Linked DNA regions of Homo sapiens: region 2 is linked to region 1. Evidence: promoter capture Hi-C in human tissues and cell types (Jung and others, 2019). All regions are on one chromosome and are shown on one strand. The core of a region is centred on a gene start or on the middle of the fragment in contact, and the rest is flanking DNA. Distances in the headings are between cores, read along the strand shown. Region 1 holds the start of ARSF (arylsulfatase F). Region 2 overlaps PRKX (protein kinase cAMP-dependent X-linked catalytic subunit).

The links. The method cuts DNA at HindIII sites, captures the fragments that hold promoters and counts their contacts. A contact is called where the count stands out against the background at its distance.
Region 2: a fragment that was not itself captured here is called in contact with the fragment with the promoter of ARSF in region 1 in 2 of the 25 tissues and cell types used here (bladder and mesenchymal stem cells).

Annotation. Positions count from the first base shown.
Region 1 is chrX:3,036,905-3,044,040 of GRCh38, forward strand. ARSF (arylsulfatase F) reads left to right here and starts at 4,567. Exons shown (of 11, transcript NM_001201539.2): 1 at 4,567-4,759. The HindIII fragment of the contact is 6,572 bases long and covers 3,047-7,136 here.
Region 2 is chrX:3,619,224-3,626,793 of GRCh38, forward strand. It overlaps PRKX (protein kinase cAMP-dependent X-linked catalytic subunit), which reads right to left. Exons shown (of 9, transcript NM_005044.5): 5 at 7,196-7,291; 6 at 2,036-2,093. Among named protein-coding and RNA genes, the nearest start is that of PRKX-AS1, 36 kb to the right of the region's middle. The HindIII fragment of the contact is 4,454 bases long and covers 1-4,082 here.

The DNA.
Region 1 (7,136 bases), core at 3,317-5,816:
TTATATATAATATTATATATAATATATATAATATATATATATTATATATATAAAATATTATATATAATATTATATATTATATATATATATTATATATATAAAATATTATATATAATATTATATATAATATATATATTATATATATAAAATATTATATATAATATTATATATAAAATATATATAATATATATAATATTATATATAAAATATATATAATATATATAATATTATATATAAAATATATATAATATATATAATATATTATATATAATATTATATATAAAATATTATATATAATGTTATATATAAAATATTATATATAATGTTATATATAAAATATTATATATAATATATATAAAATTTATCAATTAAAAATAAAAATAAAATGCTGACAAAATAAGAGGTGTTAAATGAATGTATAAGAAACATGAGGTAGCTGAAGTAGGAGTCTTACTCAAACCATCTGCCCTGATCTGTCTATCATCCCATGCTGGGACATGAAAAGGCACATATTCAGAGGACTGGGGGAATTGAGAGAGAGTGAAGGACAGACAGAGTCTTCATCAGGGACGCTCCCACATGGGAAGCCTCCTACCATGAACCTTAAAGACGTGAGTTCTGGAAGGTGTCTGAGAAGAGATTTTCTGTGGTTTTGCCAGAGAGCTGGCAACGAGGTGATGGGAGCAAACCCTTCCTTCATTATTATATTTTCCAAAACTCACAGCATTATTTTGGAGAATTGTTAAGGTAGTAGGAGGGAGATTTAAGAAATAGCCCCAGAGTGTCTTTGTGTTTGCTGCCCTGCATGTTTGCCAGGAAGAACATATTCCTCAGGTATTAGTCTCGTGCTGCTGATAAAGACATACCCAAGACTGGGTAATTTATAAAGGAAAGAGGTTTAATGGACTCACAGTTCCACATCACTGGGGAGGCCTCACAATCATGGCAGGAGGCAAAAGGCACATCTCACATGGTGGCAGGCAAGAGAGAAAAAAGAGCCAAGTGAAACCTCTTATAAAACCATCAGATCTCATGAGGCTTACTCACTACCATGAGAACAGTGGAAACCACCCCCATGATTCAATTATCTTTCACTGGGTTCCTCCTGCAACACGTGGCAATTATGGGAGCTACAGTTGAAGATGAGCTTTGGATGGGGACACAGTCAAACCATATCACCTGAGGTATGGAGAGACTGAAGAAAATGAATGTGCCATTTTTGATCTTTACAGAGGGTTTCAAATTTGCAAATGCTCAAAAATGTTATCCCTCAAAGACCTTTGAGGAAAAAGTTAGTTGATTGACTCCAGCAAAATGGAATGTAATACAAGAAAGGCGAGAGTAGACAAGCACAGTGGCTCATGCCTGTAACCACAGCATTTTGGGAGGCTGAGGTGGGAGGATCGCTTGGGTCCAGGAGTTCAAGACCAGCCTGGACAACATAGTGCAATCTCATCTTTACTAAAAATTCGTTTAAAATTGCTGAGTGTTTACTAAAAATTTGTTTAAAATTGCTGAGTGGCACATGCCTGTAGTCCCAGCTACTCAGAAGGCTGAGGTGGGAGGATCACTTGAGCCCAGGACATTGAAGCTGCAGTGAGCTATGACTACACTACTGCACTCCAGCCTGGGTGACAGAGCAAGACCCTGTCTCAAAATACTACTACTACTACTACTAATAATAATAATAAAAAGAAGAGAGTACACAGGAAGCAGTGCTGAATAAATAAATGTATAAAACAAAGTCTGAATGTGTTAGTGCACAGTTGTGAAAATAATCTGGAATTAACATTTCACATGGGAGGTAATTGAAAGAGCAGAGAAGAAAGAGAGAATGAGCATATGTTCATGTTTTTGTTTCGTCTGGGAAGAAGACATAGGTAATGACTATCTTTATATTTGATAGAAAATATAAGCTTAAATACGTGTGCTGACAGGTGAAAGGTGGTTACCACCAGAAAACTAGAAAAGATGTGTACAAGTTTCAGAGCCTTAATGGGAAATGCGTGGATTGAAGAAAACCTGATTCATGCAATCAGAGGTGGGTGGGAAAGAATTACACCGAAGAAGCAGAAAATCTGATATGTGTAAAAAAGGGAAAATAATATAAAGTGAAACTGCAGGACTCAATCCAAATATAACCATGATCATAATAAACATGGATGGATTAAAATTCCTTTAAAAAAGATAGGCTTTCTGAATGGGAAAATAAACATAAAATCCGGACATACGGTAGTGTAGGAGGCAGCTTAATTAAAAACAAACAAAATGTTGAAAATAAATGGATGCATTTGATATGATTCTGTTCCACTATCCAATCTAAGTAATGGTCAATTATTTTATAGATTGTTCTTCAGTTTTTTTTTTTTTTTTTGAGACAGAGTCTTCCTTTATCCCTCAGGCCGGAGTGCAGTGGTGCGATCTTGGCTCACTGCAACCTCTGCCTCCCAGGTTCAAGCAATTCTCATGCCTCAGCCTCCACAATTGCTGGGAGTAGAGGCACCTGCCACCACGCCCGGCTAGTTTTTGTATTTTTAGTAGAGACGGGGTTTCACCTTGTTGGCCAGGCTGGTCTCGAACTCCTGATGTCAGGTGATCCGCCCGCCTCAGCCTCCCAAAGTGCTGGAATTACAGGCTTGAGCCACTGTGCCCAGCCTTCAGTTTGGTTTTGTCCAGTGTTTTCTCATGATTAGACTGAGGTTATGCATTTTTGGCAAAAAAATCATCAGAATTGATGTAAGTTTTCAGTGTGTCATGTTACGGAGTGCATGATGTCTGTATGTCCTGTCCTGGTGATGTTAAATTTCATCACCTGGATTAAGTGGTGTCTGTTGGAATTCTCCACTGTGAAATTATTATTTTTTCTGATCCAGGAAAGGTTAAGCAAGAGTCTGGCACCATTTTAAGTCTAATAAGAAACATTTACTACCTGATTTCTCTGAAGCCTGCTACCTGCGGGCTACATGTGCATAATAAAAACTTTGGTCTCCTCAACGCCTTATCCTCACCCAGACATTTCCTTTCTACTAATTACAGGTCTTTAATCAGAAAATCCTGGAATCCACCTACGACCTGGAAGTTCCTCACTTTGAATGGAATCCCACCTTTCTGGACTAAGCCAATGTACATCTCACATGTGTCGATTGATGTCTCCTGTCCCCGTAAATTGTATAAAGCCAAGCTGTCACCCAACCACCTTGGGCACTTGTTCTCAGGACCTCCTTGGGGCTGTGTCGTGAGCCATTGGTTAAATGAATAACTCTTTTCAAATATTTTACAGAGTTTGACTCTTTTCATGGACATTAATTGGTGCCCTACACGTGGGGCCTCAGAAAAGACTCAGAATCCTTGACGCAGTTGCCCGAACCCGGAGCTAAGTTACCCGCAGGGCCATTGGAAGCCCTCCCTGGCTTTAGGTTTCTCCTCCAGTGGAACCGGTGAGTCCTCTGCAGCTCTGGACCTTCCATTTGGTTGATGGTCCTTGGTTCATTCTGAGCTGTTTTTCTACCTCCTTTTTATTTTTCTCCTAGGAAGTTGTTGTATAGGATCCTACTTTAGGTTTGGTGGTGCATTCTAAATGGTCTTCTCCACTGCCCTTTTCCCCCCAAATTAATGTCGATTGGCCTGTGAGTACATTTGCGTGAGAGACTGAACTGCCACTTTTGTGGCATAATTTTGAATTGCCAAACGAGAGGCTGACCTCCTCAGCTTGGAAAAGAAAGGGAGTTTTGCTCCTCCTAGCCAAAAACCACCCCTGGGTGGTAGGGGTTGAGTGGGAGTCTCTGGGGGATTGACTCCTGCCATGATGTGCAGTGACCCTACAGGGAACCACACAACAAAATTAATTTTAAGAGGCTCATCCAGGAGACAGGTGTAAGAGCTGATCACTTGCTATGTTGAGCCCTGTCAGAGGTCTAGACCTCTGGAGAGAGAAACTCAGACACGTGAAAGGGTAGAAAGACTCAGTGGTGACACACAGTGTAGTCCCTCTCACAGCCAGCACACTTCAATCCACCCTACTAAAACCCAGGCCACAGTTTAGTTCCTCATTTTAAAATAAAAGTGGGAGACATAGCATGTAAGGATGAGGAAAGGCGGAGAGAGCGACCCCCATTTGGGCACCCCTTTTGGTTCTCTGGTTCCTCTACTTGCAAGTATTTGTGTAAGCGGGAAAAGCTTGAGGGCATGCCAGGTCAAACAAGAAGCTTCCTGTTACATATTATGTCTGTGCTTGTTCACACTTTAAACTGCTGCACACATTACACCAGAGAAAATTCCAGCCCAAAGGTCAACCTGCAACCAATCAGTTCCTAAGTCCTCTATTTTGCTATTTTCTTTTCTGCCTACTTTAAATCTTCTGTTTACTTTTTGTTCTTTTCTTTTCTTTTCTTTTTCTTTTTTTTTTTTTTTGAGACAGAGTCTTGCTCTGTCACCCAGGCTGGAGTGCAATGGCGCTATCTACTGCAGCCTCTGCCTTCCAGGTTCAAGCGATTCTCCTGCCTCAGCCTCCCCAGTAGCTGGGATTACAGACGTGCGCCACCACGTCTACGTAATTTTTGTATTTTTAGTGGAGACAGGCTCTCACCATGTTGACCAGGCTGGTCTCGAACTCCCGACCTCAAGTGATCCGCCGGCCTCGGCCTCCCAAAGTGCTGGGATTACAGGCGTGAACCACCACTCCTGGCCCTTCTGTTACTTTTCCACTGCTGTTGAGATAGAAGTCACTGTTGGGATCCAACCTTTTTGTTTGTATAAACTGGTGAGTTTGTGTTGATATCTCTTGCTAGAGTTCTGAAGTAAAAGCTATAGGATCTTTGTGTGAGTGTGCATGCGTATTTAGATGTGTTTATGTACATGCACATATGTGTGCACATATACATTTTTTACGTGCTTTAGCCCTGAAGTGTCAAATTGGCTTCAAGTCAAAGAGTACTCATAAATTAAATAATAAGCCAAAACGCTTTTCAAGTTCACGTGACTTACATAAATCTTTAATAAATAAGCTGGCTTTAAAATTATTGGTACGATAGTATTAGAAATATCTTAAAAATTGTCAGCATACATGTTTGTTTGCATTTACTGATCAAGCAGTTTCATATTTACCTCTGACAGATATTATAAGGTGTCAAAATTTGGCATAAGGCTTACAAAACTATAAACCCAGCAACCCAGCATGAAACACAATAATCTTTGTTTCTGTACTTTTTGAGAAATAAGACGTTTAATGTTATTAGTGTAGTAAAAAGAGCTAAATCCCAAGTTATCAGTAAAATATATATATATTTAAAATTTTTGCTTAGGCAAACACAGAAAATTCATAGACTATAAAAATGGTTAACAGGGAAATAACTTTAAATGATGACTATCAGAGTTTTCACAGATAATCTAGGTAAAAGATTTTATAAAATTAATTAGGTAAATGTAATGAAACAAATGCCTGTAAATAAATATAATTTAGAATCTAAAGTTAAATAATAGATATTCACTAAATGTCTGGGCCATTTTCAATTTAAATAAATTGTATTATAGAAAAACTTTTCTAAAAAATATGTTCTTATTCAAAGCTAAGTTATTTTCATCTAATTCCATGTTTATTTATTTATATTTTTTGAGATGGAGCCTCGCTCTGTCTCCCAGGCTGGAGTGCAATGGTGCAGTCTCAGCTCACTGCAACCTCTGCCTCCCAGGTTCAAGCGATTCTCCTGCCTCAGCCTCCCTTGTAGCTGGGATTACAGGTGCCCACCACCATGCCTGGCTAATTTTTGTAATTTTAGTAGAGATAGGGGTCTTGCCATGTTGGCCAGGCTGGTCTCGAACTCCTAACCTCAGGTGATCCACCCACCTAAGCCTCCCAAAGTGCTGGGATAACAGGTGCAAGCCACCGCACCCGGCCAGATTCTAGGTTTATTTAAGGGTTATTTATGAAATATGGTAAAAGGAACCAAGAAACAAGAGATGTAAAGAAAGTTAGGCTGCGTGCATTGGGTCACACCTGTAATCCCAGCACTTTGGGAGGCTGAGGCAGGCGGATCATGAGGTCAGGAGTTTGAGACCAGCCTGACCAACACAGTGAAACCCCACCTCTACTAAAAATATAAAAATTAGTCAGGCATGGTGGCATGTGCCTGTAATCCCAGCTACTCAGGAGGCTGAGGTAGGAGAATTGCTTGCACCCGGGAGGCAGAGGTTGCAGTGAGCCAAGATCGTGCCACTGCACTCCAGGCTGGGTGACAGAGCGAGACTACTCCATCTCAAAAAAAAAGAAGAAGAAAGTTACAAGGAGGTATTTTTGGTAAGAAATGTTAAAAGAAAAATAATTTTGTATGAGAAAGAATCTTGTTGTTTAAGAGAGATGTTTAGGACAGAACAGAAAATCCAAGCAGGTTGTATATGGTCTGTGCAAGTCATAATACAGTCTGTAAAAAAGGAATTCAAAAAAATTTTTATGTAATTAAGTTTGCTATAACTAAAAGGAAATTATAATCATTCTAGGTATTGGACTTCAATAATAAAAATACAGTAATGCAAAAGGAGATCATTGGTTAGAACAAGATTTTCTTAAAATACTGATGTACTCAGTGAAATTGCAAGAAGTTTTTTATTTTTGAATTCCATAATCTCTTCTTGAAATTCTTCAGATGGACATCCTAGGGGTTCCACTTCTGCTGCATCCTGCTTGCCTCAGAGCTTTCCCTCTTTTGAAAAGGCCTGGGATGGTAACTCTCTCCTTCAACTTTTGCTGGCTCCCGTAATTTTTTAAAAATTAATAGTCTAAAGGAAGAGAGAGAATTTTTGAAAACAGGCAAGTGAAAAATGTTATAGGATGTGCCTCTATCTGTGTGTCTGTCTATAAGTTTATTTATTGTCTGTTTGTTTGATTGATTTGTTTATTTTGGAGACAGGGTCTCACTCTGTCACCCAGGCTGGAGCGCAGTGGTGTGATCTTGGTTCACTGTTCCCTTGAGCACTGGGCTCAAGGGATCCTCCTGCCTCACCTCAGCCATCCATGTAGCTGGAACCACAGGTGCATACTATCTCGCCCAGCTAATTTTTTGTATTTTTTATGTAGAGATGGGGTTTTGCCATGTTGGCCAGGCTGGTCTCAGTCCTGAGCTCAAGCGATCCACCCGTCTTGG
Region 2 (7,570 bases), core at 606-3,105, 580 kb after region 1:
AAACATAGAGAAGGCCATGTGAAAATGGAGGTGGAGACTGCAGTGGTGTGGCCACAAGCCTAGGGATGCCTGGAGCCCCCAGGAGCTGGGAGAGGCAGGAAGGATCCCCCACTAGAGCCTCTAGCAGGAAGCAGACACAATTATCACACATTGGGCAGTGGCCCTCAAAATATATGCCCATGTCCTGACTCCCAGTACCTGGGAATGGAACCCTACATGCAAATAGGGTCTTTGTAAATGTAATTAAGGGAAGGCTCTTGAGAAGAGATAATCCTGCATTAGGATGACCCTAAACCCAATGACAGGCATCCTTCTGAGAGACAGAAGAGGAGACACAGACACAGAGAAGGCCACGTGAAGAAAGACAGAGACTGGAGTGATGCGGCCATAAGCCCAGGGATGCCCGGAGCCCCCAGGGGCTGGGAGAGGCAGGAATGATCCTCCCCTAGAGCCTCTGGAGGCCTGAGACACCTTGATCTCAGACTCCTCGTCTCCAGGATGGGGAAAGCAGAAATTCCTGTTGTTTAAGCCCCTAGTTTGTGGTCAGTTCTTATGGCAGCTACTGGAGACTCGTAAACCACACAGAGGGCCCCAAGAGAGCCAAGTGGTTCAAGCCTCACACCCCGGTGTACTGTGTCTCTCCAGACTGTAATTTACAGGGTCAAGACGTATATGGAAGTTCCTCCATGTATAAGTCCCTCTGAGGTTGTCCAGAGCTAGAAATGGCCAACAAAAAGTCCATGAATTCTGTCAAATTCAGGGATGTCAAAACACGCATATCAGGTATGATACTACTTAAGGAATAGTCTGTTTGTCAATTATATACTTGCCTCCACACAAAAAGTTTGTGGAAATCATACCTGATGCACAACTTTTAAAATCATCACCTGCGCACACAAAACACCTACTCTCATGTCCATGGCAGAACCATTCACAAAAGCCAAAAGGTGGAAACAGCCCAGATGTCCATCCATAGATGAATGGATAAACAAAACGAGGTCTGCCCACACAATCGAATACTATGCAGTCAGGAAAAGGAAGGAAGCTCTGACACGGGCTACAGCCTGGATGAACCTTGAAGACATCGTGCTCAGAGAAAGAAGCCAGAGGCAAAAGCTTACATTTTGTACAATTCCATTTTTAGCAGAGCCCAGAACACCGAACCCTACAGAGAAAGTCAGTAGATTAGTGGCTGCTTAGGGTAGGGGTCCCCAGCCCCTGGGCCACAAACTGGTAGTGGTCCACGGCCTATGAGGAACCAAAATGGGCCGCACACCAGGAGGTGAGCAGCAGGCAGGTGAGCGAAGCTTCACCTGTACTGACAGCTGCTCCCCATGGCTGGCATTAGCACCTGAGCTCCGCCTCCTGTCAGATCAGCAGTGGCATTAGATTCTCATAGGAGCACACACCCTATTGTGAACTGCGCAACTAAGGGATTTAGGTTGTGCGGTCTGTGGAAAAACTGTCTTCCACAAAACTGGCCCCTGGTGCCAAAAAGGTCGGGGACCGCTGGCTTAGGGCAAGAGAGGATGAAAGAATAGCACAGTGATAACTGAAGGGTGCAGGGTTTCTTTTTTTGAACTGATGAAGATGTTCTAAGATTAACCACAGGGGTGGCTGTACATAATCGTGTGTATACTAAAAGCCACCGAATTGCACATTTTAGATGGGTAAATGGCATGGCGTGTGAATTCACTCTCCGTAAAACTGTTTAAAAAATAAAATAAATAAGTAAACAAAATAATGAGTAATAACTTATGCATTGTTATTGCTCTATTAACCTTGCTTGAGGGGAGGGGAGATACGGTGTAGACCCAGTTTGACGTTGTGGGCCCAGAAACCGAGATTTGATAGATCTTTCCTGGCAGTTTCAAGTAAAATTTAAAAAAATAAATAAAACACCAGATTTGAAATTTGGGCAGTGATTAAATACGACCGCTAAGCCTTGGTTTATACCTGCACATGCCAATGTGGGTGTTAGACGGCAGACACGCACATCGGGTACCACTGAATACCCACGGGATCAAATACTGACCTTCATGTTTCCTAATCGCCTTGTTCTGTCAACCACGAGCAGTTTCTTAATGAGGTCTCTATGTTGGGGAAGGAGACAAAAAAAAAAAAAGTACACAGATTATATATCAACATCAGCAAACGCAGCATGGCAACAGAGATAAGATCTATCTGACATGAGGACCGCAGTTCAATTTCCACTTTGGCAAAACACTTTCTAGTGCTTATTTCCTACCATCACCGGCTCTTAAATCACCTATGCAAGGCTGGGTTGCCCCGTGCAAGGCTGAAGCTAAGGGAAGGGGGTTGATTACATCTTTGTAAAGAAAATACACCTCTGAGTAGAAAAGGGTGAAATTTATATGTGCCTGCAGGGAGGATCCAGACACTTAACGTAAACATGCCTGTCAGGCTGTCCCTGCAAAATAGAAGACATCTGCTTTCACCAACATCAACACTCACGCGCTGTCCTGGGGGTCTGCTTATTGATGGGATTCCTGTTTTAAAAGGCTGGCTTTCCCATAAGCACACACATTAGGATGAGTCTCCTAAGTCTGCTTCTTCACTTATAATCTTCCTTTTAAATAACAGACCATGTCAGAAGTACAGCAGGTGGGGAGGTTGGGCATACTGGCTCACACCAGTAATCCCAGCACTGTGGGGAGGCCGAGGCGGGTGGATCACTTGACGTGAGGAGTTTGAGACCAGCCTGGCCAACATGGTGAAACCCCATCTCTACAAAAAAAAAGAAAAAGAAATTCGCTGGGCATGCTGGCACACAACTGTGGTCCCAGCTACTTGGGAGGCTGAGGCACAAGAACCGCTTGAACCCAGGAGGCGAAGGTTGCAGTGAGCTGAGACTGAGCCACTGCACTCCAGTCTGGGTGACAGAGGTAGAGTCAGTCTCAAAAAAAAACAAAAACAAACAACAACAACGACAACAAAAAACAGCAAGCTGCTTCAATTAGGATGGGTAGTTGGAGATGATGTTGAAGACTTCCAGGAGATTAGGTGAGTTCTAAAAGATGCATATTTATGGAAGTAGAAATGATCATGTGTGTCTGTGTGTACACATAAAATACACAGAGTACATTATGTATAATAACATACATAATATGATATAATAATATAATATATTGAAGTCCCCCAAAACAATCCAATACCCATGACCCCGGTGTAAGCGTCTAGGCTTTCCCAGCATAAACTATGCCCCAAGGTAAGTAGCACGAACTTGGACTGAGCCACTCCCAGGTTCTGTGACAGACTGTGGAGTCTCCGACAAGCCAGGTGACGTCCTAGGGTCAGACTCCACCATCTAGATTGTGAATCTCGCCAGTGCTGTCTGATCGGAAATTTTACAGTTTCCTGCCACCATGCTTTCTGAATTAGGATGGGATGCTTGTCAGACTTCACCGCTTCTCTGCCACAAAGTAAAACTCAGAGACCATCTGTCCGCCCACCTAAGGCTAGGATTTTGTATCCATCCTGTAAGGCTGAAAAGCTTTGAGCAGGATGGGGAATATAAAAATCACCTAAAAGTTAGAAACCTTTCCACTACTTAGTGAGTTTCTCCTTCATTATTTTGACATGCTCCCCCCTGCCAAAAAAAAATCAAGGTTATCAAACACTATACCCCCAAAACATTCCCAAATAAATGTGGGGCTTCGTCCCCCACGTGATTTACACCACTGCCTGCCCCCTTACCACACACACTTAAAGCTCACTGGAGTGCAATTATAAGACAGGTTTATTTATGCTTTTATATTTTAGATAAACCTTTGTTTTCTTATAATCCCAGTCCAATCAGCTTTAAGTGTATACGCTAATGGGGCAGGCAGTGGTGTAAATTATAGGGGGGAAAAAAAGCCCTATGTTTATTTCAGAATGTTTTGGTGATCACCTGATAAATTTCAACGTGTGTGTGTGTGTGTGTGTGTGTGTGTGTGTGTGTCATGTAAGAAAACAAAATGTTTGATGACCTTGAATTTTTTTTTAAATTTTTTTGGTGTTTGGCATGTAAGAAAATGAAGATTTATTTAAAATACAGGGGACAGTGGCTTGTAATCCCAGCTATGCAGTGGGCTGAAGTGGGAAGACCACGTGAGACCAAGAGTTCGAAACCAGCATGGGCAACATAGTAAGACCCTCGTTTCTACAAAATATCAAAACATTGGCCAGGCATGGTGGTGCATGCCTGTAGCACCAGTTACTCGGGAGGCTGAGGTGGGAGTGTCATTTGAGCCCAGGACGTCGAGGCTGCAGTGAGCTATGATTGTGCCACTGCACTCCAGCCGGGGTGACAGAGCAAGACACCCGTCTCTTTAAAAGAAAAAGTAAAATACCAAAGCAAACTCTTATAAAGCAGTCTAGAAAGTAAAGAGTATGGATGAGAAGAGGCCCCTGAAGATGCAAAGCCCTATAAAGGAACGACAGAAGTGTCCACAGCTGTAGATGGGTCCCTTGACCCCGGGATAAGCGACACATCTGCCGGCACTCTTTTGATGCACTGTAGCCAAAATTCTACATTTTATTTACGATCCTGGCACCAGCTGGCTCCTCTCAGATGCAGGTACTTTCAGGTGTTGTAAAAAACACCGGCAGATAATACCTCTACTGAATTGGCAACAAGTCCCAAAGCTTTGTTTTGGTGTTTTGTTTTAAATGATATTTATTTCTATAAGGAATGTCAATCCTGATGTGCCATTTGCCCAGGCGACATGTTTACCTGGTCAAATGATAAAAGTTGCAGGAACCAACATATGACTTTAAAAAGCAGAGAATCAAAATTCTAGCATCATGGACAACCAGGGACAGTGATTTGGATAAGAAAAATGCCTCATTAAGGCCAGGTGCAGTGGTTCACGCCTGTAATCCCAACACTTGGGGAGGACAAGGCAGGAGGATCAGTTGAGCCCAGGAGTTCAAAAGCAGCCTAGGCAATGCAGCAAGATCCCCATACCCATCTCTACCAAAAAAAGGAAAGATATGAGTCATTGAGGTCTTGCTTCTCAGCCAATTTGATAAGATTTAACAAATAATGGGAAGAAGTGAACTGTCAGTTCACTTCTATCTATCACTGTTTCTGCTCTTGGGGAACCCACACTGGGTATGTAAAGAAACAGGGGCACTGTGGGGAACACTGGAAGGGGCTGGGAGCTGCATAAAGAGAGGCATGTTAGATCAGACAGTACCAAGATGGTCGCTGCTGGTTCCCTACTCTCAAAGAAGATAAACTAGGAGAGAAAGAAGGACAAGTGGCAAGAGACCAGACTTTGATTACGCTTCTGGTTTATTCTATTTCTGCAATTCCTTTTTTTGTTGTTGTTTCCACAGAACATTGGAAACCCCCCCCATATATATATATAATTATATCTTTTAATTTTATTATTTTTTCTTTTCTTGACACAGAGTTTCACTCTTTCATCCAGTCTGGAGTGCAGTGGTGCAATCATAGGTCACTGCAGCCTCGACTTCCTGGGCTCAAGCAGTCCTCCCATCTCAGCCTCCCTAGTAGCTGGGACTACAGGCACTTGCTACCATGCCCAGCTAATTTTTAAATTTTTTGTAGACATGGGGTCTTGCTACATTGTCCAGGCTGGCCTCAAACTATTGGATTGGCCCCAAGCAATCCTCCCACTTCGGATTGCTCCTGAAGTGCTGGGATTACAGGCATGAGCACCTCACCTGGCCAAACTCGATCATAAAAGTGCTTTGCCATCCACTTAATATAATGTCACTCAACTCAGATGGGATTTGGGGCCTGAGAGAGAGGTTCTATATAATCCTTTCTATTTCCTTCCAGAGCAGTCGGCTTCTGAGGTGCTGTTTCCCCTGACACCTCCCTGTCTTACCATTCACTGGACAGGGTGTCCCTTCTAGGCGACTCATTGTTAAGCGGAGCCTCGTTTTCTTGCTAAAGTCTTTTAAAGCCTGCCTCTTAGTGTGTCAAACACAACACATGCTCAAGCCAATAAAACACGACCTTATCTTCTGTTCAGACTAAGAACCTCTGGTTAGGATGGGGTGCGTTCACCACCAAGAAACTCAACTGAACGTAGCCAGTGGCCCCATAAGGGGCATATTCAAAACAACCTGCTCCATCGCCCTGAAATAAGTCTTCTCTGAACTGAACTTCCACCGGCTCATAAGAAAATAGACCATGGAAAAGAAAAGTTTAATTCTCAACTAGATGCATTTAGCTCTAGTTTGTGCCCAGGGGGCTGGTGCACCCATCAACTCATCTGAAAAATACAGTGAAACAAACAGAAATCAGTGCTTATTACAGTAAAAATGGCTACCAGTTGACCAGATTGGGTAAGGTAGCCAGAAAACCAAAAGCATTCTTTTTTTTTTGAGACAGAATCTTGCTCTGTCGCCCAGGCTGGAATGTAGTGGTGCGATCTCAGCTCACTGCAACCTCCGCCTCCTGGGTTCAAGCGATTCCGCTGTCTCAGCCTCCCAAGTAGCTGAGACTACAGGCGCCCACCACCACACCCAGCTAATTTTTTATATTTTCAGTAGAGCCGAGGTTTCACCGTGTTTCCCAGGATGGTCTCGATCTCCTGACCTCGTGTTCCACCCACCTCAACCTCCCAAAGTGCTGGGATTACAGGCATGAGCCACCACGCCCAGCCGCGTTCTTATATTTAAGAAAATAATATATTTTTTCCCTACTGCCACGACCTTTATAAAATGTGCATCCAAAGTTGCCAATATCCAGCAACTGTAAATATCCTTGAAGCAACATGCTCAGAACTGAAAATGTTGACGTTAAAAAGGACTTAGAGGTTGAGCATAATTTAAGCAGGAGAGAAAGGATAAAACTCTGCTAAACCCATCAACAGTTCTGTTAGCCACAGAACTAGGAGGATCCTTCTTGTCAAATTCCAAAACTGCTCTCTTATAAAATACGATGACAAACTCGTTCATTGGCTCATTTTAAATATAACATACCACCAAAAGAACACAATACGGCCAAGACTCATTAAAATGTGAAGCTATCATTAAAGTAGAATACTGAAAATCTTTTTCTTTTCTTGTGGAAAAGACAACTGTCCAAAATAGTTTATGCGCAGCACATTTAATAACACAATATGGTATCCTGCTGAGTGCGTGCTTTCACGGTGATTTTAGACACTTTAAAAATAAACACACCTCATGATGAGGCAAACGGTTTACTTACTTTACATGGAAATCCAAATGTCTGGGGAAATCTATTTTGCCTGCAAGAATTTTCTGATAAATGCCAAACGGGTTGTCATCAAAAAACGGAGGAAACCTGTTAGAAAAACAAACATGTATTTTTAGTGGGGAGTAAGCATGGAAAAAAATCCCTGCTTTGTAACGATAGCTATTTCTGCTTCACACAGGCAGAAGGTAATTTATTTCACATGCTCTTCCCCGCACACTGAAGTTGTCACGATCTGAAAGCACGTGACAGTCAGATGGTTCTAAGAGGCAAGGCATCGTGTGCCACAGTCCGATGCAGGGGAAGCTCCCTTGGAGAGAATATAAAGACCATTTGAGAGGCGTCTGCTGAGCAGAAGGCAACTCCTTT